2 separate regions of the Homo sapiens genome follow, and region 1 is linked to region 2. The links are contacts of gene promoters, found by promoter capture Hi-C in blood cells and fetal thymus (Javierre and others, 2016). All regions are on one chromosome and are shown on one strand. The core of a region is centred on a gene start or on the middle of the fragment in contact, and the rest is flanking DNA. Distances in the headings are between cores, read along the strand shown. Region 1 holds the start of NAGLU (N-acetyl-alpha-glucosaminidase). Region 2 holds the start of DHX58 (DExH-box helicase 58).

Region 1 (4,119 bases), core at 1,620-4,119, 420 kb after region 2:
TTTTTTTGATATGGAGTCTCGCTCTGTCATCCAGGCTGGAATGCAAATGGCACGATCTTGGCTCACTGCAACTTCCACCTCCAGCGTTCAAGCGATTCTCCTGCCTCAGCTTCCCAAGTAGCTGGGACTACAGGCGTGTGCCACCAAGCCTGGCTAACTTTTTTTCTTTTTTTTTTTTTTGAGAGGGAGTCTTGCTCTGTCCCCCAGGCTGGAGTGCAGTGGTGTGATCTTGGCTCACTGCAACCTCCGCCTCTCCGGTTCACGCCATTCTCCTGCCTTAGCCTCCCGAGTAGCTGGGAGTACAGGCGCTCGCCAACACGCCCGGCTAATTTTTTGTATTTTTAGTAGAGATGGAGTTTCACCGTGTTAGCCAGGAGGGTCTTGATCTCCTGACCTCGTATCCGCCCGTCTTGGCCTCCCAAAGTGCTGGGATTACAGGCGTGAGCCACCGCGCCCAGCACCTGGCTAACTTTTGTATTTTTAGTACAGACGGGGTTTCACTGTATGTTGGCCAGGCTGGTCTCAAACCCCTGACTTGAGGTGATCTGCAAGCCTCAGCCTCCCAGAGTGCTGGGATTACAGGCGTAAGCCACCGCTCCTGGCCTAAGGTTGGCTATTTTTATGGTTATTTCTTGATTATATGATAAACAAGGGGTGGGTTAGTAATGAATTTTTCAGAAAAGGGGTGGGGATCCCCCCCAACTGAAGGTTCCTCCACTGTTTAGACCATATAGGGTAACTTCTGGACGTTGCCATGGCATTTGTAAACTGCCTGGCGCTGCTAGGAGTGTCTTTAGCATACTAATGCATTATAATTAGCGTATAATGAGCAGTGAGGACGATCAGAGGTCACCTTCCTGTCTTGGTTTTGGCAGGTTTTGACCAGTTTCTTTGCTGCATTCTGTTTTATCAGCGGGGTCTTGTGACCTTTTATCTTGTGCTGACCTCCTGTCTCATCCTGTGACGAAGGCCTAACCTCCTGGGAATTCAGCCCAGCAGGTCTCTGCCTCATTTTACCCAGCCCCTGTTCAAGATGGAGTCGCTCTGGTTGGAAACTTCTGACAAAATGACAGCTCCTGTTATGTTGCTGCTGCTGCCGCCAATGGACAGCCTTTAACGTGCCCGCCAGCCCTGCTCCACCGCCGGCCTGGGCTCACATGGCCCCATCCCTCCTCGAACCTCCTAGCCTGTTAGTTACTCAAATCTGCAAGCTCTCTGCCTTCTCAGGGCCTTCAATAAATGCATTTCTTCTGTCTGGAAGGCTCTTCCTTTCCCTCTTCTAGCCAATTCCTATTCATCCCTGAGTTTCAGATTAAAAGTCACTTCCTTTGGAAACCTTACTTCGCTACTTCGCTACTTACTGCACTACTTCGCAGCATCACAACTATGATGGAAATCCTTACTTACGTTAAATATCTGGTTTCTAGGTCACCTCCCTGACGGGGACGGTAGGGACCGTCTTCTCGTTCATCAGTAGGGAAGTAGCTATGGCAGTGCCTGATACAAAATAAACTCCAAATGTGTATTTATTAGATGGTTGGATGGAAGTTATTTGCGTGTGAAAGCGCGTTTTACCCGAAGGCGCTCTGTGAGGGCCAGCGGGTCCCCTTCGGCCCTGGAGCCGGGGTCACACGCTCCCCACCGCGTGCGGTCACGAGACGCCCCCAAGGGAGTATCCTGGTACCCGGAAGCCGCGACTCCTGGCCCTGAGCCCGGGCTTAGCCTTCGGGTCCACGTGGCCGGAGGCCGGCAGCTGATTGGACGCGGGCCGCCCCACCCCCTGGCCGTCGCGGGACCCGCAGGACTGAGACCATGGAGGCGGTGGCGGTGGCCGCGGCGGTGGGGGTCCTTCTCCTGGCCGGGGCCGGGGGCGCGGCAGGCGACGAGGCCCGGGAGGCGGCGGCCGTGCGGGCGCTCGTGGCCCGGCTGCTGGGGCCAGGCCCCGCGGCCGACTTCTCCGTGTCGGTGGAGCGCGCTCTGGCTGCCAAGCCGGGCTTGGACACCTACAGCCTGGGCGGCGGCGGCGCGGCGCGCGTGCGGGTGCGCGGCTCCACGGGCGTGGCGGCCGCCGCGGGGCTGCACCGCTACCTGCGCGACTTCTGTGGCTGCCACGTGGCCTGGTCCGGCTCTCAGCTGCGCCTGCCGCGGCCACTGCCAGCCGTGCCGGGGGAGCTGACCGAGGCCACGCCCAACAGGTACCGCCCCGAAGCTTCCCCGCGTCCGCCCGAGGCGCTTACCCCCTCCCGGAGCCGCTGCCACCCAAATCGGGAGGCTGAGCGGGGAGCGCTGGCCGGAAGGCCCAGCTGCGCCGCCTCCAGCAGCTGTGTGGCCTTGAGCCAGCCACTCTGCCTTTCAGAGCCTCGGCTGGCCCACCTGAAAAACGGAAAGAAGACGCCTACCGTGCAGTGTTATTGTGAGGATTTGCACGATGATGGGCATAGAATTTGTGGTGCACAATTGGTGATGAGTGAATTTTCTTGCCTTCCTCCCCCACCTTCTCTTTGAACCTGCGGACTGAGGAAGGACGCCTCCATCCCCCACCCTACAGGCCTGTGTTCCAGCGCCTGCCACACTATGGAGTGATGTGTTCACACAGCTGTCCTCCCCTGCCCATCTGTTAGACTGTGGGGGCAGGGATTCCCCGTTCCAGGAAAACACCGTGCAGAGGAGGGGCTCTGGCAGTGTGGCATGAAAGTGGAATATGCCACCCAAATACCCGCCAGGCTAGAGGGCCCTGGGAGAGTGCAGGGGACGAGTGCCTCAGAAGCCCAGCCCCGGTACCTGGTCTCAGCTCCACCTGGGGTGGGTCCCAGTGTGCAGCAGAAGGGCCGAGTTTGGAGCCCCTCCCCTCTCCTCTAGGTGGGGGATGGGGGATTTGTTCCAGGGCCGTGGACCCTCCAGGGTGGGATGCGCCCCTGCTCATGACACTGCCCGCAGGTACCGCTATTACCAGAATGTGTGCACGCAAAGCTACTCTTTCGTGTGGTGGGACTGGGCCCGCTGGGAGCGAGAGATAGACTGGATGGCGCTGAATGGCATCAACCTGGCACTGGCCTGGAGCGGCCAGGAGGCCATCTGGCAGCGGGTGCGTGCCCACTGTCCCTTCCCCACCCTCCTCTATGGCGGGAGCCACCGTAGGTGTTTTCACCCGCCCCCCAGCATGGGCGCAGTGTCTCTCTCTAGAAGTGCTTTCAGCGTGCACAGTGGCTTGGGCCTCCTAAAAACTGAGGCTTCCGGCCGGGCGCGGTGGCTCACGCCTGTCATCCCAGCACTTCGGGAGGCCTAGGCGGGCGGATCAGGAGTTCAGGAGATCGAGACCATCCTGGCCAACATTGTGAAACCCCGTCTCTACTAAAATACAAAGAAATAGCAACCTGGGCAACAGAGCGAGACTCTGTCTAAAAAAAAAAAAAAAAAAAACTGAGGCTTCCAGTTTGAGGAGTGGGGCTCCTTCCCCCATCTCCCCTATGCAGCCAATCACCTGGTCCCTTGGATCCAACTCATGGGCAGCTCTAGATCTGCCTCCCTGGAAGCTTCTGTGCTGCAATGGCTGCTCCAGGCTCTGCTTAAGCTCTTCACACAGTTGCCCTGCCCTTCCATCTGGCACTCTTGCTCCATGAAGCCTTCTAAGGCCTTCCTGTTGGGGGAAAGCCCCTTTGTGCCCCATCTCCTCACCCATGCGACAAAGGCAACACAGTGAACTCACCTACTCACAGGTCTCTTTCCTCTGGGCTGTGGGCTCCTTGATGGCAGCGTTCGGATTTTGTCTCAGTAGCCCTAGCACCCAGCACAAAGAAGCAATGAGTGAATGGTTGTTGAATGAATGAATGAATGAATGAAGATGAATATATTTCTATGTGTGGGCCCTTCTTCCTCAGGTGTACCTGGCCTTGGGCCTGACCCAGGCAGAGATCAATGAGTTCTTTACTGGTCCTGCCTTCCTGGCCTGGGGGCGAATGGGCAACCTGCACACCTGGGATGGCCCCCTGCCCCCCTCCTGGCACATCAAGCAGCTTTACCTGCAGGTAAAAGGATGGAAAAGGGAAGGGGCAGAATCGGTGATAGATGGTCATGGGCCCAGGAAGGGTGGTATTAGGCCGGCCCCAGGGCTCTTAACTG
Region 2 (4,111 bases), core at 641-3,140:
GTTTAAGTTCTAGGTACTGGCTCATGATGACGTTGTAGACGGTGTCCTTGTGCGTGTGGTGGCACTCATCCACCACGATCAGGGAGAAGACTGAGGGCACAGGGGGGAAGGCTGTGACCTATGTTTGCAAAGCCCTTCCTCCCATCAGCTTTCAAGTAGTCCCCACAATGATGTAAGAATTCCTTCTTCCCTTCACAACCTGCAGCTGGTCCCAGGATGAGGAGCCAGGCAGGGAAGACTTCTTTCCATTTCACAGATTAGTAAACCGAGGCTCAGCTGGGGAAGGGACTGGCCTAAGATCCTACACGATAGCCCGGCCTGTTTCTACTAGAGTGCCTGCAGGGGTTTTGTGAACAGGCAACCCCTCACTCCCACTAAAACTCCCAACACCTTGACTCCAGGAGGTGCCCTGGGGTTGGCGAAAGGAGGTACCCCAGATGCGTATCTTTTTCCTCCCGGCCATGGCCCTCACCAGTGAGCTCCACGTGCTCCTCCTCCTCGGGGCTGGTCAGTGCCATCTGCAGAAGCTCTGCTGTGCAGATGAGCAGGTCATGGCACCGGGCCAGGTGGCCAAAGCCAGCACGTGGTCCCATGTCCCCACTCAGGGTTGTCACGGTCCAGCGTCCATCCAGCATGCGCCTGAACTCTTCACCATGCTGGGTCACCAGGTGCACCTGGGGGTGGAGAATGAGCTGGGAAAAGAGAGCTGAATCTGGGGCCAGGGGTAGGGAGGCGGTAAGGTGACCCGCAGGACATGGCTGGGTACTGAGCCAGGGTGGAAAGACAGGTGAGCTTAGCGATGGCCACAGCAGCTTTGGAGTTCTGGTGGGGACTGGGAGATGCCTGAAGAGCTAAGACCCTGCTTGGTGGTGGGAGAGCGGGGTAGGGACAGACCACTCACCCTGTTGACCAATACAACCACCTTGGCTCCATCCACAGTCTCTAGGTGCCGCTTGGCCACATAAGCAGCCGCCCGGGTCTTCCCGGCACCCGTGGGCAGCCAGATGATGATATTCTTGCCCTCCAGGGCAGGCATGATCACCTCCCATTGGTAGGACCGAAGCTCCATTCTGGGAATGGCAGGGGACTCAGACCCACCGACTCCTCCACCCCTCCCAACTCCTGGCCAGACCAGTCAGTACAGAGACCTCCCTTTGCCCAGGACTCCACCCCACTTGAGGGAGGTGGGGCAGGACTCCCTCAGAACCCATCAGGACCCTGCTCTGCCCAAAAGGGGGAGGCGGGAGTAACACAGGCTACACCTGCCCCCTGCCCAGCCCAGGACTCACCTGCTCTAGTAGGTAGGTCTGCCCAGGGCAGTCCCACTTAACTCAGCCTGGTGCCACTCTGCTCAGCTCAGAGACCCAAGATGGAAACTGAAACTGAGGGAAGGAGCCAGCTGAGCCGACTTAGGAATCTCCCATCCCCGCCCCAGGAAAAAGAACCAAGAGAAAAGAACCGTTTGTGCTAACAGTCATCGCCAACTGCCGTGAGTACAAACTCCGGTTAAGTACTGCTGCTGCGCCAGCGCCCTGGCAGGCATGATCACCTCCCATTGGTAGGGCCACAGCTCCATTCTGGGAATGGCAGGGGACTCAGACCCACTGGGCCCTCCACTCATCCCAACTCCTGGCCAGAGCAGTCGGTACAGAGACCTCCCTTTGCCCAGGACTCCACCCCACTTGAGGGAGGTGGGGGGGGGGACACCCTCAAAACTCATCAGAAGCCTGCTGTGGCCAAAAGGTGGGGGTGGGGGGGGGTGGGAGTAACACAGGCTACACCTGCGCCTTGCCCAGCCTGGGTCTCGCCTGCACCACCACGTAGGCCTGCCCAAGGCGGCCCTGCTTAGCTCAGCCTGGTGCCGCTGTGCTCAGCGCAGAGAGCAGAAATCAGAAATGGAAACTGAAACTGAGGGGAGGAGCCAGCTGAGCCGACTTACGAATCTCCTATCCCTGCCCCAAGAAAAAGAACCACGTGTGCTAACAGGGAAGCACTCTTTCAGTGCTACAGGATCCTCTACGCTCTGGCCCTTCTGCAGTCAGTTGTAACCACATCCACCCAGGTTAAGGTGAAGGCAGGAGGTTCTGACCCCTGCTGCCCTGGCATCTGGATCAGGAGCAGCCTGGAGGAGGGAGAGGTGGGGGGCTGCAGGCAGGTAGGACCCATCACCCCAGGAGCACAGGACCAGGCCTGAGGCTTGCTGGGGAGAGCAGCCTCCAGTTTGCAAGAGGTCCCTGGGGGCCAAGGTGAGCCTGCTAAGGCTGGGACTACACCAAAGAAACAATCACACAGAGAAATAAAAAGCTTTATTATTCCCTCTAAGGGATTAATGCCAGGGAATGAATGGTCCCCATACCCCCCACCCCTGGGGGAGACTGACAGAACAGTGCTGGACAAGGCATGGCCCCCTTCAGTTTGGGCTGAACTTCCAACCCCTGAAGCCATCACTCAAGCTAAAATGAGCAGTTCTGGTCCTCAGGGAAACAGCCACCTGGGCCAGGCCCAGGAATCCAAGCCTCCAAAGCTCTTGGGGACCAGGCCTGGGGGCCACCACGGCTGGGCAAGGTTCATCCCTGGCCACCAGCTACTCTAGAGGGGCTGGGCCCCAACCCAGGAGACCTCTCACACACAGTGAAGGCTGGGACAGAGCTGCACGCTTGGGGGTGCCTGAAGGTCCAGAAAGAGCTGCAGGATCGGGTCCGGAGGACCCTTGGCTGGAGTGTCTCAAGCTGAGTCGGGTCCGTGGGGCCAGGGCACCCCCTAAGGATCAGATCAGAATCCGAGGTGGAGACATTCCAGGTCAGGGCTGCGGCCCAAAGATGGGCCTACTTGTCAATGAGGCCTCCCTCCTTGAGCTTGAAGTAGAAGAACTTCTCCAGGGCGCTGGCACAGCGGCAGTACTCGCTGTCCGGGGGGTTGTACTCGCGACAGTTGGCGATGACCCGCTGCAGGTCGGCCACAAAGAGCTTCCGGGTCACGTAGTAGCGGCTTCGCAGCCGCTCAGTCATGGTCTTCAGGTCTGGGGCAGCAGGAGACGGAGCACAGCTTTAAGAGGCTGAAGACCACGGCAGGGCTGTCCACCAGGGTGGGCCCCCTGGGGCTGCAGGGCGCAGTGAGGGCAGGAGCAGGTGTGGGGACAGAAGAGGAGGGAAGGGGATGGAATGGAAGGTCCTCACCAATGGGGAAGCGGATGACCTCGTAGTAGTCAGGGGCCTCCGACTTCTTCACAGGCTCCATGAAGGGCCAGGCACTGGGGTGAGACTGGAGAGAAGAGCCGGGCTGGGGACAGCCCTGCTGCGCCCACGCCAGCCCGAGACCACTACCCACCCCACACTGCATCAAGAGGCCACAGCCATTGGTGCAGGGGCCCTGGAAAGGAAACCTGGTCTCCCCACCTTGATTTGGGCCAGCAGGTTTTTGAGGGTTGTGTAGAGCTGGTCGGGGTCCTTCAGCTCCTTCCTGGGGCGAGAGACACCAAGTCTGAGGCTCCAAGTCCCTCTGCCCCACCCCCAACCCGGCTCCTTTGACACTCACCCCTTCTCCTTCCCCAATGGCTTCCAGCCTGTCTCTCCTGCAAAGTGGGAAGTGGGAGAATGTCTCTAAGAATGCCAGTCCACACCCCAAGCATCGTGCCCCCACTACCCTGCAACTGAGACCCCTGCTTACGAATGCCAGGAACGCTCTCCACAGGGATCTGCCTCACGCCCTCCTTGAAGCAGCTGAGCCCCGGGTAGACCTTGCGGATCTGGGCCTGTTTGCGCTCAATCAGCTTCTTGATGATCTGAGGGAAGGAAGGGACTGAGGGGCCAACTCCAGCCCCAACAACAACCCCTCCCAGGGCCACAGTCGGAGCCACTGGCTGCACCCACCCAGCTGCAACGCCACCTAATCCAGCACCTCCCCTCATAACTTCCCCAAGGGAGCAGAGCAAGAGCCAAGATCCTGGCCTGCCCCTCCTCACTCACACACATATATGCATGTAGACGTAGAACAGGTCTACACACGTGTGCTCGCCCTCTGCATGCCCATTCATGAAAAATCCCACAGATGCGCATGTGTGCACACCACCTCTTTCTGCTTCTTGATGATGTGGGACAGCTCCGTGTAGGGG

The links. The method cuts DNA at HindIII sites, captures the fragments that hold promoters and counts their contacts. A CHiCAGO score of 5 or more calls a contact.
Region 1: a fragment that was not itself captured here is called in contact with the fragment with the promoter of DHX58 in region 2 in 1 of 17 cell types (fetal thymus); the score reaches 7.0 in fetal thymus.

Annotation. Positions count from the first base shown.
Region 1 is chr17:42,534,461-42,538,579 of GRCh38, forward strand. It overlaps NAGLU (N-acetyl-alpha-glucosaminidase), which reads left to right and starts at 1,781. Exons shown (of 6, transcript NM_000263.4): 1 at 1,781-2,195; 2 at 2,938-3,085; 3 at 3,879-4,025. The coding sequence starts at 1,813. RefSeq lists enhancers at 1,494-1,573, 2,087-2,824 and silencers at 1,684-2,093, 2,214-2,283. The HindIII fragment of the contact is 1,324 bases long and covers 2,208-3,531 here.
Region 2 is chr17:42,110,824-42,114,934 of GRCh38, forward strand. DHX58 (DExH-box helicase 58) reads right to left here and starts at 1,891. Exons shown (of 14, transcript NM_024119.3): 1 at 1,782-1,891; 2 at 1,290-1,382; 3 at 902-1,070; 4 at 473-674; 5 at 1-90. The coding sequence starts at 1,069. It overlaps KAT2A (lysine acetyltransferase 2A), which reads right to left. Exons shown (of 18, transcript NM_021078.3): 13 at 4,069-4,111; 14 at 3,667-3,781; 15 at 3,535-3,571; 16 at 3,396-3,459; 17 at 3,177-3,261; 18 at 2,288-3,019. The coding sequence ends at 2,826. RefSeq lists enhancers at 1,399-1,498, 1,739-2,258. The HindIII fragment of the contact is 8,851 bases long and covers 1-2,302 here.